2 separate regions of the Homo sapiens genome follow, and region 1 is linked to region 2. Evidence: promoter capture Hi-C in 16 types of primary human blood cells and fetal thymus (Javierre and others, 2016). All regions are on one chromosome and are shown on one strand. Each heading gives the region's core, a stretch centred on a gene start or on the middle of the fragment in contact. The rest is flanking DNA. Distances are from core to core; before and after follow the strand shown.

Region 1 (3,175 bases), core at 332-2,831, 3.3 Mb before region 2:
CATACTAGTAAACATGCACCCTCAAATAACTTACATTGCTAATTATATCATATGGTCTTTCTACTGGTGCTTTAATTCTGGAGCAATGAAATAAGAAGTCCTCTTTGAGAATGCAGTTTTTCTATTCATTTGAATGCTTAAAGCATCTGCTTGCCTGGCCTTTTTCAAGAAGGTACAGTGCTTTGAATGTGGTAAGAATTTTAAAAAATTTGCTGTATGCATGAATGACCAGCACCCAACCTGGAGCTAAAAAAATTTTTTTTTAAATCTATCAAAACAGGAAGTTTCAGGGGTAGGTTTCCTGTGGTTGGAGATACAGAAGAATCGGACGTTGGTGTGTATCTTGCAAAGTGACAGGCATGGCCTAGTCTGCCCCCCATCTGAGTTAACAGAAACGTTAGTGGTCTTTGAATCATAATCCAATGTTTACTTGGATGTGGAGTAAGGGGTGAGGAACTCCATGCTATTAAGATCATTAAAGACCTCTTTGCTTGTACTCGAATGTTTCGAGTTTCGTTAATAATATAGCTAAAACAATGCTTCGCTAATAATATAGCTAAAAAACTGTAAACAACCCTGAGGTCCACAACTAGAAAATGGATAAACGATGGTACATCCATGCAATGGAATACTACTCAGCAATAAAAAGAAACAAACTACAGACACAAGTAACATGAATGAATTTCAAAAGCATTATGCTAAATGAAAGACGCCAGACACAAAAGGCGATATAGCCTATGATTCCATTTATATGGCATTCTGGAAAAGGCAACACTTGCAGGGATAGAAATCAAATCAGTGGGTGCCAGGGAATAGGAAGGGTGGAGGGGGCTGAATACAAAGGAGCAGGTAGGAACTTTCTAAGGTGATGAAAATGTTCTGTATCTCGATCATGGTGATAGCAAAAGGCATAATGTTTGTCAAACCTCATAGAAGAGTACACCTAAAAAGGGTGAATTTAATGTAAGTTACACCTCAAGAAATCTAATACCCTTCCCCCGCTTCCCTTTGCGAGTTCCCAACAAAGAGGGAGCAGAGGTTCAAAGCGCGCCTCACAGAGACCGCAGGCCTGGCGCCCAGTCTGACCCCGGGGACCGCAGTCACCCCGTGGAGCGGGAGGTAAGGGAAGGATGCTCTGGGTGGGAAAGGAAGCCGAGGCCGCGTCCACACCGCCAGGCTGGAGGGAAAGCCCTCACCGAGTTGCTGCAGAGAGATGCGGCGAAGGGAAGCTTCAGCCACTGCCGCGACACCCCAGCCTTGCGTCCCACATTTCCGGAGGCTCCTTACCGATGTTCCCTTCGATGGAGATTTTCTTGATGCGGGTCCCCTCAGAGCTGGCTGAGAAAGACGGGCAGCTTCTCTTGGGCGGGGTGGCCATTCCTTAGTCTTGTGGCGGCCCAGAGCTCGTCCGGCAAAGAGGGCTGGGAGGCGGCCACGGGTGCGCGCACTGGAGCTCGCGGCGCCGCTAAGCCAGATCCTGACCTGCCGGGTCAGCTAGTGAGCTCACCGGCCCGCCGGCGGGTGTCGGGGTTTGACTTTGGCGCGCGGAGGCAGCTGAGGACACTGGCGGGCCTGCGGGGCGGCCCCGCCCTCCTCAAGCCGCGCTCCCTAGCTGCCCCTCGGCCCTCGCCCGCCTCCAGCGCGGGTTCCCGCGTGCGCGCTCCGCACGCCAGGTCACGTGAAGGCCGGGGCGGGGCCGCGCGTGTGGCGGAAGGCCTCTACCCCAAGCAGCCAGGCGCCCGGGCAGGGCGCGGGAAGAGGTTCCGGAGTCGGGTGGGGAGGAAGGGTGGACCCCAGAGGCCTGAGGGCGCTGGAGGGCAGAGGGCGTCACCTGCAGTGGGCCGTGCCAGGCTTTGGAAAACCCGCCTCTCTAGTGGGCCTGTTGGAGATGAACAGACGCGTCTGGACAGAACTGGATAGACTTAAAGCTTTGAACTCATCTGGGGAGAAGGCACTGTGTGGTAGGAAAATCAAATGGATTTACTCTGGCTTCTCAGCCTAGAGGAAGACTATCAGGCGAAGTGCCGTCCTTGGGAATCGCACTGCCCACTTAGAGAGCCAGGCTGTTTTCTTCTATGTGCTTTTCATTAATTAACGAAGTCTAGTGCCAGAAATACCGTCATTAGCCCATTTACCTGCCAGTGGGAAAACAGGCACTGAGAGGCTGCTTGTTCCAAGTGTCAAAGTCAGTAAGTGAAACTGGGATGGGAATTTAGGTAGTCAGATGCCACCCACAGGAGGCCTTTCCAGATCTCCCATACCGCTTTCCATTTGATTTGGATGCACGACCATGCTGTATAGAAGTTAGCACGTTGGGTAGGTAGGTTTCTGTTCAGCTGTTAACTCAGCCTGCCCGACACCTGGCACATAGGTAACAAAATGTACTGTATGTTGAATTTTTGAATGCCTACTCATGTGCCATGTACTCTGCTAGAATACTCATCTAGATGGGACAAATGCAGTGTAGGATTTGTCCCAGCTAGATGAGTGCATTTTTAGTCAGGGTAAAGACCTAATGAGGCAAGAGAATAGGGAATTAGGGTAACCAAGGGTTAAGGCATAAGCAAAAGAACAGCAGGTGCAGCAATTTCTAGGCAAGACTAGGCAGCATACAGGCCACACCTTCACTCCTGTGATTACAAGACAGAAGTTTCCACATCGCCTCTGATTGTCCTCGGCCATCTCCATTTCAGCCTCTGATTGGTCGCAGGCCAATCCTTCATAGGGTGCAACCAATTGGACGACTGTAAAGGGCACCTAGGGATTTACCAAATTCTTTTAGCCTAGTAACCCTTAAGAACACTGCAATTGGGACTCTTGAAGCACTTGGTTCGCTTCAATAAATTTGTGCTTTTGTTACTTCGTTCTTTTGTTGTTTTGTCTTTCGTTGCTTCTTTTGTTGCTTTGTTTCTACGTTTTGTTCAATTCTTTGTTCAACACGCCAAAAACCCAGACAACTCAGTCAAGACTTCCCATCCAGTAACACTAATAAACCGGATATTACCCAGTCTGGAAGTTATCTGGTCCAAATTGTCTACAGAAACCAAAGGCCTTGCTATTCTTTTTTACATTGCAACTATCATCAGACCTGAAATGCATCTAAATGTGTAGCCAGAAGGGGAAAACGGTGACTCCATCCTCAGAAATAAAGAGCAGAAATTAAAATGTGAATCCT
Region 2 (3,254 bases), core at 47-2,546:
CCCATCAGATCAAACCAGAATGGAGTTGCTTGTGCTAAGCACCATGTAATTAAAGTGGATTTTGAAAAAATGAGCCAGTTTTTTTTAAAAAAACAGGAGATTCTAGTTAACCTAGTGGGCATAATAAGGAAGTATGCTCTGTTTTAACCTTTACAAGGAAAGAAACTTTGAAATAATCTGATTTTTGTTCTGTTTCTGCTTTCTTCAATCTTTTTCATTATCTTCAGTCCTGTAGCATTATCTTAGTGCTAGAGCAGAGCCTTGAAAGAATAGAACACAGATCAAGAACATTTTAATGTGGAAAAGGTTCACAACTGGATTGAGGAACACGGATAATGCTATAGGTGAGCAACATAAAGCTTCCAGGTATTTTAAGATGTGCAATTTTGAAGAGAATAGAGGGCACGAAGGATAATACAGTTTTGCCTGGACCCTCATCTCCATATGAGAGGAAAAATTTCTAATTAAAAATATGATACATCACAGAAAATTACATAATACCCAAAGTATATGCTAATTTTAAAAATCCTGCAGATGTTTATTCAAATATACAGTGTTATTTAGTGAAAGACAAATCCTAATGTTATTGTGTCCAACTCATTTTTGCTTTCTAAGAAAGGTGACACGGAAGTAAATGAAAAAGAATTATATGAGAACTTTTTAGATATGTGTTCTGGTAATCTAACAGTGACTAGCTCTATAACCTTGACCAAGTCACTTGCACTGACCGGAAGTTCCTTTCCCTTACCCACAAATTTAAGGGACCAAACTGGATGATCTAACGACATCTATGGCACTAAAAGTCACATGATTCTATTAAATCTGAGGCAGCGCCTCACATGTAGTGGACTCCCAAAATTATTTATTAAATGTATAACATCTTTAAGTGGTATCCCCTCACTGACAATCTGGAGCTATTAGCAGCCTTCAGTTTATTTATAAAATAAAGCTGTTTCCTCTTCTTACCGTTAAGACTCTTTTAAGGATTTGCAACGCTATCCCATCATTTCGCGGGTTACTAGAGTCCTGCATGTTTGGCTGTAGAGCAAGGGTGACGCGTAACTTCTGGACTTTGGTTCCATCTACATCTGCCGGATGCGGATGCCAGTCGCAACAGTAACGCCCCCTTCGGCCACCTGCACCACAGCACGCCATGCGGCCACACCCAAACCGGAAACCAGGACGCCCCTAGGGTTGACGGGAAGGCGCTGCCGGGCTCCTAGCTTCCCCAGGCCCGCCCCCTCTGATGACGTCTCCGCCCGCCCCTTGACCCCCCCACGGTCCCGCCCCTTCCTACCTTCCAGTAGCCGGCGGCGGTGTCTCAGGCGGCAATGGAAGGATCCGAGCCTGTGGCCGCCCATCAGGGGGAAGAGGCGTCCTGTTCTTCCTGGGGGACTGGCAGGTGAGAGGACGAGAAGGGCGAAGGTGAGGGGTCGCGGGTGGGACCCAGGCTCCGGGTTTCTGCTTCTTTCTTTCCGGCGGGCTGGGGGCGCCCGAGAGGCCGCGGGGCCGAGCAGAGCCGGCCCTGGGAGGCGAGGGGCGCGCGCGGAGTGGGTGTGGCGACGTGGGCTAGGGCCTCTGCTGTTGCCGGCTTTCCTGAGGGAAAAGTCCCCTTTCCGCACCTTTGAGGGCTTTCTCAGTTCTGGCTGGGATTCGGGATCCTCCTTCCTCCAAGTCACCAGACTTGGGGGGCTCCGGTCGAGAGCGAGTTCTGGTCTCGGTCACTTGGCGTGAGCTTCCCCGACTGGTGCCAAGCACCTTTCCTCCTTTCCGTAAAAAGAAAGCTAGGAGCGCCACTGTGCACCTCCACTGAGATCCTCTTTTGAAAACTATTACCAGAAGGAACTTGGTAAGAATGAATCAGTAGCAATCTGGACACCCTGAGGCCTTTGTTGACTTCGGAAGAAGGAAAAAAAAAAAGCCAGGAAAAAAAAATACACAAGTTACCCATTCTTATTTCCCACTTGGTTTTGAAGTTCTTCAGGTCTTTCCCGCCCCTGTAAAATTAGGGGGAAAATATTTGTGCTAGGCCTTTACCAATTTCTTGGTTAGTAGTTCCTCTTTCAATCATCTCATAATTAATAAAGCAAGTGGTTACATTCTATCCACCACTGTCAGAATACACCATGCCAAAGATAGAATTGATGGATGTATTATTTTCAGCTGATGTGAGACTTTGTAAACCTGTAGCCTTTTCGCCAGTTTCAGACTGAAGGGATGCTTTCAGTTTCATGGTGTTGTCTGCCATTGCCAACACTGCCAGAGTGGAGGGATATTATGTAATATAACCCGCGCCTTATTTGAAGCGTTTTTGATTGTCTTATAGATCATATTATTTTTACATATTTTTGAAACATTCCAGTGAGGCACAACTTTCTGAAAAGGGCCAGTCACGCCATTAAGTGGCAGAGCTAGTTAGACTGCAGCTGTTCTCGTTTTTATTCAGATTTACCCACCAGGCCTATTGCCCCCGCCATGCAAGGAAAACAGCAAGTGAAAGTGTACTAGGGATAAAATGATAGGAAAGTAGATAATAAAAAACTTTGGCCGGGCGCAGTGGCTCAAACGCTTGCAATCCCAGCGCTTTGGGAGGTCGAAGCAGGCGGGTCGCTTGAGCTCAGGAGTTCTTAGACTAGCCTGGGCAACATGGCGAAACCGCGTCTCTACAAAATACAAAAAAATTAGCTGGGCGTAGGTGATGCACGCCTGTAGTCCCAGCTACTCGGGAGGCTAAGATGAGAGGATCGCTTGAGTCTAGAGAGATCGAGGCTGCAGTGAGCCGAGATCGTGCCACTGCACTCCAGTCTGGGTGACAGAGAGAGACCCTGTCTCAAAAAAAAAGAAAAGAAACAAATTTTGTTAATTTTTATATTTTGTTACAATGCCCAAACAGGGTATATTGTGTATGTGTGTGTTTTTTATTAGGTAGGTGATCTCTTAGAACACAGCTATCTTCTGATTTGCCTTGGTAATTGGAATCAGTTTTTTTAATAGCTATCCGTTTAATTAGCTAGAAGCTGGTATCATTTGATATGTGCCAGTGTTTGGTGAGATAAATGATAACATTTTAATTACCTTTGTTTACAAATTCTTTGGCTTATTTATCAATGCTAGGACTAGAAAGTTGGATTCCAAGCCTGAATTTGATGCCATCGCATTGTTTTTAGAATCTTTTAATTGACAACTAGAGCTTCTCAGAACTAGGAATGGCCTCCACTTCTGCCAGTATATTGATCTCAGCTCTCACAGTGGTT

What was found. Contacts are between HindIII fragments. The CHiCAGO score rates a contact against its expected background, and 5 or more counts as called.
Region 1: a fragment that was not itself captured here is called in contact with the fragment with the promoter of UBA6 in region 2 in 1 of 17 cell types (non-activated CD4 T cells); the score reaches 6.7 in non-activated CD4 T cells.

Annotation. Positions count from the first base shown.
Region 1 is chr4:70,992,039-70,995,213 of GRCh38, reverse strand. DCK (deoxycytidine kinase) reads right to left here and starts at 1,565. Exons shown (of 7, transcript NM_000788.3): 1 at 1,288-1,565. The coding sequence starts at 1,378. RefSeq lists an enhancer at 1,140-1,319 and a silencer at 1,490-1,829. The HindIII fragment of the contact is 699 bases long and covers 1,232-1,930 here.
Region 2 is chr4:67,699,197-67,702,450 of GRCh38, reverse strand. It overlaps UBA6 (ubiquitin like modifier activating enzyme 6), which reads left to right and starts at 1,296. Exons shown (of 33, transcript NM_018227.6): 1 at 1,296-1,402. The coding sequence starts at 1,332. UBA6-DT (UBA6 divergent transcript) reads right to left here and starts at 1,173. Exons shown (of 2, transcript NR_015439.1): 1 at 967-1,173. RefSeq lists silencers at 1,203-1,272, 1,403-1,572. The HindIII fragment of the contact is 4,018 bases long and covers 362-3,254 here.